2 separate regions of the Homo sapiens genome follow, and region 1 is linked to region 2. The links are contacts of gene promoters, found by promoter capture Hi-C in blood cells and fetal thymus (Javierre and others, 2016). All regions are on one chromosome and are shown on one strand. The core of a region is centred on a gene start or on the middle of the fragment in contact, and the rest is flanking DNA. Distances in the headings are between cores, read along the strand shown.

Region 1 (6,692 bases), core at 868-3,367, 650 kb before region 2:
GTCTTCAACCAATTTTGTGTTCCTGGATAAATGCCCACCTGGACTTGGTGAATTACTGTTTTCATAGATTGCTGGATTTGACGTGTGGATATGTTTGAGGATTGTGTGTCTGTTCATGAGAGGTGTTGGTCAGCAGCATTCCTGGAGTGTCTGTCTGCTTTGTTAGGAGGGCAATCTTGCACTCATAAAATGAGGCCTCTTCTATATTTTGGATTAGTTTGTGTACCGTTAGCATTGTCTCTTCTTTAAATGCTTCATAAGATTTACCAGTGAAGCCATTTGTGTTTGAAGTTTTCTTTGTGAAAATAACATTAACTATGAATTCAGTTTTTTTTAGTAGCTATAGGGCCATTCAGGTCATTTATTTCTTCTTGAGTGACTTTTTGGGATTTTGTATTTGTCAAGGAATTTGACCATTTCATCTAAGTTTGTTGAATTTATTGGCCTAAAGTTATTTTTATATTCCTTTATTATCCTTTTAATGTCTGTGGGATTTTGAGTCATGTCCTTATTTTTATTCCTGATATTGGTAATTTGCACTTTGTCCCCTTTTTTGCTAACTGGTCTGGCTAGAGGTTTATCTGTTTCTTTTCAGAGAGCCAACTTTCGTTACTTGATTTTTCTCTCTTACTGATTTCTCCTGTTTATTATTGCTTTCTTGTGCTTACTTTCAGTTTAGTTTGCTTTCTTTTTTGTAGTTTCTTAGGGTAGAGGCTTAGATCATTTGGTTTTCCTTTCTTCTTTTCTCATATAAACATTTAATGCTAAAAATTCTCTCTAAGCACTGCTTTAGGTGTGCTCACAGATAGACATGCTGTGTTTTCATTTTGATTCAGAGTGGCGTATTTCCCAATTTTCCTTGTGGTTTCTTCTTTAATGCTTGGGTTATTTATTAGTACATCATTTAATTTCCAAGAATTTGGGGATTTAAAAAATATTTGGGTACTTTCCCAGTATTTTTCTGTTATTGATCTGCAGGGGTGAGTTACCTTGTAATCAGAGGACATACCTGTTATGATTTTAATCCTCCTAGATTTGTTGAGAGTTGTTTTACAGCCCAGAATATGGTCTACCTTGGTGGATGTTTGAAAAGTGTATACTCTGTGGTTCTTGGGTGGAGTGCTCTTTAAATGTAGTTGGGTAAGGTTTGTTGATAATGCTCTTCAAGCCTTCTATATCCTTATTGAATTTTGTTTCCCTATTCTAAAAATTATTAGGAGTATTGACATCTCCAGCTATGATTGGAGACTTATTACCCCTTTCAGTTCTGTTGGTTCTTGGTTCATCTGTTCTAAGTGATTTCATTAGGTGCATACATGTTTAGAATTTTAACATCCTCATGGGGAATTAACCTTTACTCTTATGAAATGGCCTTCTCTAGTTTTGTTGTCATATTCCTTTTTTGAAATTATTTGATATTAGGATAGCCACTCCAGCTTTCTTTTGATTAGTGTTTCTGTGGTAACTGTTTTTCCATTCTTTTATGTTGAACCTGTTCTTGTCATTACATTTAATGTGTGTTTCTTGTAGAAAACACAGTTGGGTCTCTTGCTTTAAAAAATCTAATCTGACAATGTCTTTGTAAAATTGGAGTATTTAGACCATTTACATTTAATGTAATTATTAATATGGTTGGGTTTAAGTATACCATCTGGCTGTTCATTTGTCATTCACCAATTTGTTCTTTTTGCCCTTCCTCCATCTTCCGTAGCTTCTTTTCAGTTATTTGGATATGTTTTTGAATGATTCCAATTTAACATTCTGTCTACACTGTTGGCTTGTTAGCTATCTCTCTTCTTTTTTAGTGGCTGCTTTAGGATGTGTAATGTACATACTTAGCTTATGCTTATCATAATCTGCATTCATGTGATATAATACAACTTCACATGCAGAATAAGCACCTTAACAAAAGTATGCTTCAATTTCTCTCATCCCATTTTTTGTTATATTATTGCTACATATGTAATATTCTCCAATATATAGAGTTACTATTTTTATGTTGGGCAATCAGTTTTCTTTTAAAGAGATTTAAAAAATCCAGAATTTACATTTATTTGCATATTTACTGTTTTTTGAAATCCTCATTCCTTTGTGTAGATCCTAGTTTCCATTGAGTACCATTTTTTTTACACCTGAAAACCTTGTACCATCATTTCTCAAGTGCAGGTCTGCTGGTGTCTGAATTGTCATGCATTTGTTTTTGTTTTTTGAAAAAAGCCTTTGTCTCACCTGCATTCTTGAAAAAATGTGAATTCTAGGTTGACCTGTTTTTTTGCTTTTTAATACTTTAAAGATGTTGTTCCATTGTGTTCTGCCTTGCATAGTTTCTGATGATCAGTTTGCCGTCATTCTTAAATTTGTTCTTCTGTATGTAATCTGGCATTTTTGCCACCTCTGGCCACTAAGGTTTTCTCTTTGTCACTTGTTTTCAGCTGTTTGATTATTTGTTTTTATGTTTCTTCTGCTTGGGTTTCACTGAGCTTCTTGCATCTGTGAGAATGGGTTACATATCCCTTATCTGAAATGGTTGGGACTAGAAGTGTTTCTGATTTTGGATTTTTTTTGGATTTTGGAATATTTGCATAGATAGATAGGTAGATAAATAGATATATAGATAGATAGATATAGATATAGATACCTTGGGGATGTGACCCAAGTTTAAACATGGAATTTTTGTTTCACATATACCTTATCCACATAGCCTGCAGGAAATCTTATGTATTATTTTAAATAATTTTGTGCATGTTACAAAATTTTGACTGTATTTCAACTGAGACCTGTCATACAAGGTCAGGTGTGGAATTTTCCAATTGTGGCATTGTGTTGGTGCAGTTTTTGGGTTTTGGAGCATTTTGGATTAGGTGTGCTCAACCTTGTTTTACCTCATATAGATTTTTCATCAGATTTGAGGAAATGTCACTGAATATTTCTTCAGATATTTTTCCTGCCTCCCCTTTTTCTGAGGCTCCAATTGCGCATGTGCTGCTTCATACTGTCCTGTGTCTCCCTGAGCCCTGCTCATTTCCTCAGTCTTTTTGTGTTTCTGTGCCTTGATAGTTTAAAAAACGTTATTTTCTCATTGTTGCTATTTTTTCCTTCTGCTGCATCTAATCTGTACATCCTATCGATTGTATTTTTTACTTTAGAGACTGCATTTTACATCTCTATATGCTCCATATGGGCCTTTTAAAATATCTTCTATTTCTCATGTCATATGTGGGTTCTCCTCTATCTTCTCAAATATGGAGCATGTTTATAAGAACTGTTTTTATGTCCCAGTCCCCTTGTTTTACGCATCTCTACTTTTCTGGGTTTGGTTCTGTTGAATGATTTTTCTCCTGATTGTGGGTTATATCCCTCTGCTTCTCATGTGTGTGTGTTTTAAATGGGATCCTAGACATTGAGAGTTTTGTTGTGGAGTGCTAGATTATGTTGTCTTTTAAAAAACAGTTTTGGACTTTGTTCTGCTGCAGGTTCAGTTTCTTGAAATTGTTTGTATCCTTTCAAGGTATCATGCTTTTTTTAAAAAAAGGTTTTGTTAGGGCAGGTCCAGACCAGGTTTTAGTCCAGGGATAGTTTAGTCCTACTATTTACATAATGTCTTTACTTTATAAGGGTGTGTGTATGTGTATATATGTATGTGTGTGTGTATTATATATATGTATGTGTGTATTTTATATATGTGTGTATTAAATATATATGTATTACATATATATGTATATATATGAAAAATAAGGCAGCTCTGAGGTCTTTACCTGATGAATGTTGTATTAGGAGATCTTTCCACACTGGCTGGTGAGAACATGAAATATTCCCAGCTCTGTCTGTGATCAGGAATTATTTGGGCTGCTACTTCTGGGCATCTTTCTTTGACCTCAGGGAGTTCCTTCTCAAGCAGTGTCTCAGTAGTTAGGCAGAGGCCACAGGGACTCTTCTGGAGATGCCTGGCGTGTTCTCTGAGTAGGCCCTTCTTCCCTGGTACTCCATCCTGATGATTCTAGGTGTTTTGTTCTTTTTGAATTCTAATCTCTCTCCCCACTTTGGTGAGAGCACCCACTGGTTTTGTGCCAGATGACCCTCCTCCTCCTTGGCACAGCCTGGAGGCTGCATCCAGCCGTTCTCTGGCGGCTGGCTCACTTCACTTCCCTTTCCTTGGGGAGCATAGCCCCTGGCTGCTGTTGTCCTTGTTCTGAAGACCATTGTTTTATATAAAAGTTGAGCACCCCTAATTCAAAATCTGAAATGCTACAGCATCTGAAAATTTTTGAACATTGACATGCTGCTCAAAGCTGATGCTCAAAGGAAATGCTTATTGGAGCATTTTGGATTTTTGGATTAGGGATGCTCCAACTGTAAGTATTTGCAAATATTCCCAAATCCAGAAAAATCTAAAACCTGAAGCACTTCTGGTTCCCAGAATTTCAGGCTACTCATCCTGGACTTTATTTCGTTTTAGCTGTTACATGTGGTTCTTGCTGCTCTGTCATGGCTAGAAGTGGGATCCCCACCAAGTTATTAGTGGACTCATAAAAATAAAAGAGAGGCCTGCTGGGCTGTTACCAGACTGAGATTGCTCAGATTACACAAAGCCCTCTGGCCCTGACCCCAGACTTTTTACCAGCCTGAAGTGGGTGAAAAGAAAGCTTCACTGACTGCTTTCTAGGCATGTTTAAGCCTGCTTATTCTGGCCCTCACAGAATAAGAATTCAAAGGACAATAATTTTCAAGAAGACTTAATTTAAGTTCATCTACCTTATTAGACTTGATATAGATAGATAGCCTTTTTAATTTTTTTTTCTCATGGAAACAGAGTTGAAGAAAACTAATTTACCTTCTAAATTTAGGCACAGCTAACCAAGTCAAGGTGTGGTTCTGTTCTTCTCTGTTCTCTTCTCTTCTCTTTTTTTTTTTTTTTTTTTGGTGGGGGGTAGACAGAGTCTTGCTCTGTTGCTCAGGCTGGAGTGCGATGGCATGATCTTGGCTCGCTGCGACCTCTGTCTCCTGGGTTTAAGCAATTCTCCTGCCTTAGCCTCCCAAGTAGCTGGGATTACAGGTGCCCATCACCACGCCTGGCTAATTTTTTGCATTTTTAGTAGAGATGGGGTTTTGCCACGTTGGCCAGGCTATTCTCGAACTCTTGACCTCAGGTGATCCACCTGCCTCAGCCTCCAGAAGTGCTGGGATTACAGGTGTGAGCCACTGCGCCCAGCCGGTTATTGTATTTTCTGTATGCTTTTTGGTCGTTCAGCTCATACTCAGTCTTTCCCTGTACTGTTTGAGAAATTCACAAGTGAATCCCAGATCACAGGTGTTTGGTGAAATTGGTATAAACCTTAACTGACTTTCTGTTAAGAAACATAAAAAAATTTATTTGTATTTCTACTCTGAAGAAGGACTGTTCAAACTTTATATGGAGGGGACCCAAGATTGGGAAGGCAGAGGAAACAAAGGGCGTCTTTGATTCACATTATTTTTCTCTTGTCATCATTGCAGGCTTAAGTGTGTGTCATCACTAGAAATGTATTCTGTTGATGTCTGTCATTTCAGCATTTTCATGTTGTCAAAAATGAGACCAGACAGAAGAAGAGTGTATTCTTTCCTGCTAGAACTCGCACAACACTGTCATTAATGCCTCTGGCAGTCAGGACTTTAATCAGTTAAATGTAATAGTGGTGATAACGTTAAAGCCTTGTATGGCAGTCTACCCGGGCAGCCTAGAGAGCCCTGTGCAACTCTGCATTTGAAAAATCAATCAACTAGGGCTGTCTTTTGTCCTGGGCTACTTGGATAGCTGGTATGAACCACCCAGCACTAGCCTCCTGCTTGTTGAGATGACACTTTTCCTGAAGCCATGCCCACTCTTGACAAAGAATAATTAGGTGCCCTGCATAAGTGTATGGGGACCTGCAGGTGGCTTGGATGGTTTGCCCTGCTCTCATGGGGGTCCACATGAGCATACAGAATGGAAGAAGTCATGATGGTTGCAGTGGTTCCTCAGAGGAACAGTGAGTTTTTCAAGTAGGACTCTGATTATCTGTAAAGGCCAAACTTGTTCCAGTGACATCACATCTCTGGGGTTGCTAGGAAGTAAAGGAGAAAATGGGTTCACTTGCACAGTTTTGGATTACATGTAAGTTTTAAAGAATAGGAATGTGTGTGTGTATGTATGGTATATACACTATATTATCATTACCAAAAATGATGCCTCCTATAGACTTTTGGTAGAAAGGAAATTTCTTTCTCTTCTGGTTGTCTGAATTTTGTTTTCCTTTTTTTTTGCTTCCCTCCGGAAGGGAATCAAAAAATTGTATATATATATGTACACACACTATATATGAAATGCCTGTTCATATCCTTTCTGCCTGTGTTTCTGTTGGGATTTCTTTTTCTTATTGATTTATAGGATTATTTTATATAGTCTGGATTCTAATCCTTTGTCAGGTATATTGGCTGCAATTTTCTTCTCCCAGTTTGTGGCCTGCATTTTCATTTTCTTTATACACTGCTAACCATGTAGGTGTATGTATGTATATATTCTGATTGTGGGTTATATTTCTTTGCTTCTTATGTGTGTGTTTTAAGTTGGATCCTAGACATTGAGAGACTGTGTGTGTGTATATATATACCATATAGGGGTGTGTGTGTGTGTGTGTGTGTGTATATATATACACACACAAACACACATAGGTGTA
Region 2 (6,242 bases), core at 1,394-3,893:
AGTTTAAAACAACTGTAGATTCACATGCAGTTGTGAGAAATAATACAGATCCTGTGTACACTTTCTTCCGATGACAACACCTTGCAAAACTGTAATACTGCAACCAGGATGTTGATATTTATAAACAATCGACTGATCTTTTTCAGATTTTCCCAGTTTTACTTGTACTCGTGCGCGCGTGCATGCGTGTGTGTGTGTGTGTGCGTTGTTTTTGTTTTTGAGACAGGGTCTTGCTCTGTCGCCCAGGTTAGTGGGCAGTAGCAGTGGCAGGATCATGGCTCACTGCAGCCTCCAACTCCCAGGCTCAAGTGATCTTCTCACCTCAGCCTCTCACCTACCTGGGCCCACAAGTGTGAGCCACCATGCCTGACTCATATATATATATATATTTTTGTAGAGACCGGGTCTTCCTATGTTGCCCGGCTGGTCTCCAACTCCTCGGCTCAAGTGATCCTCCTGTCTGGGGTTTCCAAATTGTTGGGATTACAGGTGTGAGTCAGAGCACCCAGCCAAGTTCTATACAATTTTATCATGTTTAGTTTGTGTTCTCACCACCACAGGCAAGATACAAAATGGTTCCTCATCACTCTCCTGTTGCATTTTAAATAACACAATTTACCGTGTTCAATACCATGTATTTCTCCAGGTGAGGTATACATGTGACAGGCTCCAAAAGGCTTTTAAACACCACAGTAGTGCTGCCCAAGAAAATTCAAGGGCCACGAATGAAAGTTGCCTATGAAATTAGACATTTCTCAGGAGCCAAAGGTAAAAGAGACCAATTTAAATAATATATTTCAGAAAACCGAATATATCCAAATATCCTCATTTCAACATGTAATCAATATAAAAAGTATGAATGATATGCTACTTTTCTCGTACGAAGTCTTTGCAATCCAGTGAGCCCAGTCCTCTGGCAGCTGTTAGCATGGACTGAGTACCTCCTATGTGTCTGACTCTGATCCAGGCACTGAGACACAGATCAGCTCCTGCCCTTTAAGAACACAGGCCAATGGAGGACAAGCACAGTTCTACAACATGAGACAGGCCACGGTAGAAGCAAGCAAAGGAGGCCTGGGAACACCTGGCTAGTAGGGAAGGCTCTGTGGGGGCTTGGCCTCAAAGCCCAGGGACAGCAGGGGGACCAGTCAGAAGGAGCCCCAAGTGTCTGGGTGGGAGCGATGGTGTTCCCTGAGATGGGAACCAAGAGGAGAGGCACTTTGGAGGGAAGGCCCAGTGTGGTTTGGGGATATCCAATAAAAGATGGCCCCTCCTCAAAGTTAGTGGATGCTAGGCTCTGGGATGCAGGGGAGGGTTCTGGGCTTGCTATTGAGGTTTCCCTGGAGGTTGATGTCACTGGGGGCATGGAGATTACTCAGGCCAGAAGGTGTGTGGGAAGCATGGGGTGTGGGGTACAGAGTACACCACATGGAGAGCCAACATCAGGGGGATTCCCAAGGGAGAAAGACAAGCCAGGGATCATCCAAGGAGGCAAGACGGGAGGAGTGCAGGGATCTGTGGACCCACCCAGCCCCTTCTGTTCTGAGGTTACAATGGGTGATGGCTCTGTGGGGCTGCAATGAGTGGCGGCACGCGCGGAGGGCCAGGGGAGGAGGGACATGCTGTGGGCTCCGGGTTCAGGTCCCAGGACTGAATTGGAAGCACCCTGTCTGTGTTGAAGTTCAAGATCTACCACTTCTGTTCCCAGACCTCCCAGTTCTTCCTCACCTTTATGCAATTTCATTTTTGATAATTTCAGCTTCCTAAATGTACACATCTGACTTCACTTTCACTCACATGTCTCACCCCCACCCCTCCACCGGCCCCTTCTATTACAGACCCAGGAGACACAGGAAGTGCAAGGAAGGTCTGGAGCCCCAAAAGCCAGGAGCCTCAGGAGTCAGGTGTCCTGACAGCCAGGAACCCTGACACCCAGGAGCCCTGGCACCCAGGAACCCCAACAGCCAGAAGCCTCTACCACCAGGAGCCCTGACAGCAAGGAACCCCGACACCCAGGAGCCCCTACTACAGCCAGGAAGCCAGGAACCCTAACACCAGGAGCCCTGACACCCAGTCACCCCGACAGCCAGGAAGCCAACAGCAAGAAGCCTCTACCACCAGGAGCCCTGACAGCAAGGAACCCCGACACCCAGGAGCCCCTGCTATAGCCAGGAACCCTAACACCCAGGAGCCCCTACAGTCAGGAACCCCGACACCCAGGGGTCCCGACAGCCAGGAACCCCGACACCCAGGGGTCCCGACAGCCAGGGGCCATTACGGCCAGGAGCCCCGACAGCCAGGGACCTCGACGGCCAGAATCCACTACATCCAGAAGCCCTTATAACCGGGAACCTCCATAGCCAGGAGCCCCTACAGCCAGGAGCCCCTTCAGCCAGGGAGCCCCGAAAGCCAGGAGCCCCGACAGCCAGGAACCATAACAGCCATGAACCCCGGGAGCCAGGAGGCCCGCAGCGGAGTGCCCAGACTTGGCAGGGTCAGAGCCCCCCAGCGGGATCCAGAGCCCGCCGCCGAGGCCCCTTTTGGGATTTCTCAGGCTCGGCAGCCTCAGCGCAGGCAGGGGCGGGGCTTTCCCTCGCGCAGCCGCTCAGCTCCCCGTGGCCCCGCCCACATCCGGCCGCCGGCACTGGATTGCTTCTGTCTGGCGGCGGCAGCATGGCGGCGGGGGCGGCTGAGGCAGCTGTAGCGGCCGTGGAGGAGGTCGGCTCAGCCGGGCAGTTTGAGGAGCTGCTGCGCCTCAAAGCCAAGTAAGCGGGGCGGCGAGCGGTAGGAGTGAGGAGCCGGAGCGGGAGCGGCCGCGAGACCGGGCCGGTGTGGGGCGGCGGGTGGCCCAGCCTGGCTTCTTGGTGCCCGGCTCCCTTCGGCCTCGGGGGACCGGGCCCGGCGCCACCCGTAGACTCCCCCGAGCCTCCGCGTGAGTGGCCCGAGCCGCAGGTTCCCCGCCCCGGAACAGCGAGCAGGGCGCGAGGCTCGCCTGGAAGCCCCGGCCCCAGCCCTGGCTCCGACCCCGACGGCTGTCCAAGCCCGGGGGACGCGACCTTCCCGGCCTCTGGCCTGGGCGGCCCCGCCGCGGGACGGAGGCGGTGGTGACTCAGCCGTGCCGCAGTGGCGGGGCGGGGGACGGGGCGGCGCCGAGACCCCGGCCCTCCGCGCCACGGAGCGGGACCCACGGCTGCGGGCTCCACCTTTCCTGTGCCCGCCGGGAGGGAGCGGCAGGCTCGGCGTCGGCCCATTGCTCTTCAGCCTCCCTTCAGGAACGCCCCTGTCGCAGGAAGAGCGGCGAGGGAAGGCCCCGTTGCATTAGCTAGGCCTGGCTGCCTTTTGAAGTCAGCCTTTAAAGTTTGTTGGACAGCAGGTAGCCTCAGTCTTCAGACTTAACCTGTTGCCGGAGACAGAGATTTCCTGTTCCATGAACTGGTGTAGTGAGAGTCTGTTCAGATTTGGCGCCGGTGTCCAGGTCTTCAATCCCTGGGAAGACTACAAAAGGAGATCCAGAGGAATGCATAGAAAGCGTTTTCTGGGTGGACTAGAAGCTCTGAACTGCAAGCATGCTTACGAGTAAATGCTTACTAGCGTGCGTGCCTGCAGGGAAAGGTCTGCACGTGGACTCTCCGTGATAATACCACCTCACATTGTAGACTACTCCAAGGACTGAGTTGTTCTCTTAGTTGTATTATTAGCGGTTGTTATGGGAACTCTTATGTCGGATTGCCTGGGATCCAGTCCCACCGCAGCCACTCAGTAGCCATGTAACCCCTGGGCACGTTTCATGCCCAAGCCTCAGTTTCCCGACGGTGACATAGATTAGCACCTGTTAGTACCTCAGGGTTGTTGTGAGGGTTAAATGAGATGACGTATGTAAAATACAAATAATACAATGCCTAGTATGCAGGAAGCACTCAGTAGATGTTGGCACTTAGTATTTCAGTAGGAAGTAGAATGGTTCATGGAATTCACAGGCAAAAAGCTTTGTTTTGTTTTGTTTTTGAGACAGGGTCTGGCTCTGTCACCCAGGCTGCAGTGTAGTGGAGCGATCACGGCTCCCTGCAGCCTCCGCCTCCCAGGCTCAAGTGATCGACCCACCTCATCCTCCCGAGTAGCTGGGACCACAGGTGCTCACCACCACGCCCGTCTAATTTTTATTTTTTTTTATAGAGACGAGGTCTCGCCATGTTGCCCAGCCTCGTCTCGACCTTCTGGACTCGAGCGATCTGCCCTCCTCAGCCTCCCAAAGGGTTGGGATTACAGGTGTGAGCTACCACGTCCGGCCAGAAATGCTTATTGATCTAAATTTTGTTTTGTTTGTTTTCGAGACAGGCTGTTGCTCTGTTGCCCAGGCTGAGTGCAGTGGCGTGATCTCGGCTCACTGCAGCCTCTACCTCCTGGGTTCAAGCGATCCTCCCACCTCAGCCTCCTGAGTATCTGGGACTACACGTGCGGTCCACCACGCTGGGCTAATTTGTGTATTTTTCGTAGAGGCAGGGTTTCCTCATGTTGCCCAGGCTGGTCTCTGGAACTCCTGAGCTCAAGTGATTCGCCTGCCTCGGCCTTGTAAAGTATCGGGATTACAGGCTTGAGCCCCCGTGACCTGCCCTGTTGATCTAAATTGAGTGAAATTTTGCCGACTGAATTTGAATTAGAGGCAAGTAGTACTCTGATTTTGCAATGGAGAGTGCAGGTGAGATGGGGTGTTGCCTTTGGAAATGGGGAGGGGTGCGAGTTACTGACTAATGGTTAGAAATGCTTTATGGGGGTGATGAAATTAAAGTGTTATTTAAACAGCTCTTTAGGCATTTCAGGTTTACCTGGGAAATTGTTACGGAAAAAAGCAGGGGTTGGGGAGGGACATGTGACATTTACTCACTGATGGAAGCTGGGCTCTGACTCATCCAGTACAGATCAGCACAATCACAGGAGTCACCAGAAGTGGCCTCTTGAAATGAGCAGGTCTTGTGTGGACCTGCCCTAAGTAAACGTTTTGAATTTACCATCACCTGAAAGGCTGTTTTGTCTGTTTTACATGTTTGTTTTAAATGCTTCATGTTTTAAAAAGTCCTTAAACTATCAAAATGAATAAAAGTGTTTTTTTTTTTTTTTTTTTTTGGGGGGGAGACAGAGTCTCTCTCTGTTGCCCAGGCTGGAGTAGAGTGCAGTGACACAATCTTGGCTCACTGCAACCTCTGCCTCACGGGTTCAAATGATTCTCCTGCCTCAGCCTTCTGAGTAGCTGGGATTACAGGTGCCCGCCACCACGCCTGGCTAATTTTTGCATTTTTAGTAGAGATGGGTTTCACCATGTTGGCCAGGCTGGTCTTGAACTCCTGACCTTAGGTGATGGGCCCGCTTCCCAGCGTGCTGGGATTACAGGCATGAGCCACTGCGCCCGGCCAAAATGGATAAAAGTTTAAATGTAAGTACCATTTGGATGTTGTATCCTTGCCGCTGGCCTGTACTTGAAATGGCCCAGGAAACAATGTGCACTTTCCTTAGTGACTAGTTCAAACGGACACGTGATAAATGATGTGTGGCATCTGGGGAAGGAGCACATTTCTGCAGCTTTTTTGGTGAAGATGGAGACATTTAAGAATATTAGGCCGGGCGCGGTGGCTCACGCCTGTAATCCCAGCACTTTGGGAGGCCGAGGTGGGTGGATCACGAGGTCAGGAGATCGAGACCATCCTGGCTAACACGGTGAAACCCCGTCTTTACTAAAGAAAATACAAAAAATTAGCCAGGCATGGTGGCAGGTGCCTGTAGTCCCAGTTACTCGGGAAGCTGAGGCAGGCGAATGGCATGAACCTGGGAGGCGGAGCTTGCAGTGAGCCAAGATCGTGGCACTGCACTCCAGCCTGGACGACAGACGAAGACTCCATCTCAAAAAAAAAAAAACCAAAAAAAGAATATCATGGTGGCTTACACCAGCAAACCCAGCACTTTGGGAGGATGGCTTGAGGCCAGGAGTTTGAGAGTAGCTTGAACAACATAGAACCCATCTCTACAAAAAATAAAAAAAGTAGCCAGGCATGGTGATGCATGCCTGTAGTCCCCAGCTACTCAGGAGGCTGAGGTGGGAGGATTGTTTGAGCCCAGGAGTTCCAAGCTGCGGTGAGCTATGATCCTGCCACTGTACTCCAGCCTGGGTGACAGAGTGAGACCCTGTCTCAAAAAACAAAAAGTGCCCGAATTTTAGTACTTGTGTTGATGTAATAATTTTAAATCTACTT

Evidence for each region. Contacts are between HindIII fragments. The CHiCAGO score rates a contact against its expected background, and 5 or more counts as called.
Region 1: a contact is called between a fragment that was not itself captured here and the fragment with the promoter of GLRX3 in region 2, in 1 of 17 cell types (total CD4 T cells). The highest score is 5.0, in total CD4 T cells.

What each region holds. Positions count from the first base shown.
Region 1 is chr10:129,481,278-129,487,969 of GRCh38, forward strand. All of the region lies in intron 1 of MGMT (O-6-methylguanine-DNA methyltransferase), which reads left to right. Among named protein-coding and RNA genes, the nearest start is that of MGMT, 17 kb to the left of the region's middle. The HindIII fragment of the contact is 5,048 bases long and covers 1-4,641 here.
Region 2 is chr10:130,133,748-130,139,989 of GRCh38, forward strand. It overlaps GLRX3 (glutaredoxin 3), which reads left to right and starts at 2,644. Exons shown (of 11, transcript NM_006541.5): 1 at 2,644-2,765. The coding sequence starts at 2,674. LOC105378561 (a long non-coding RNA gene) reads right to left here and starts at 2,624. Exons shown (of 6, transcript XR_001747659.2): 1 at 1-2,624. RefSeq lists a silencer at 2,626-3,225 and enhancers at 3,426-3,475, 3,754-4,389, 4,390-5,024. The HindIII fragment of the contact is 5,217 bases long and covers 1-3,983 here.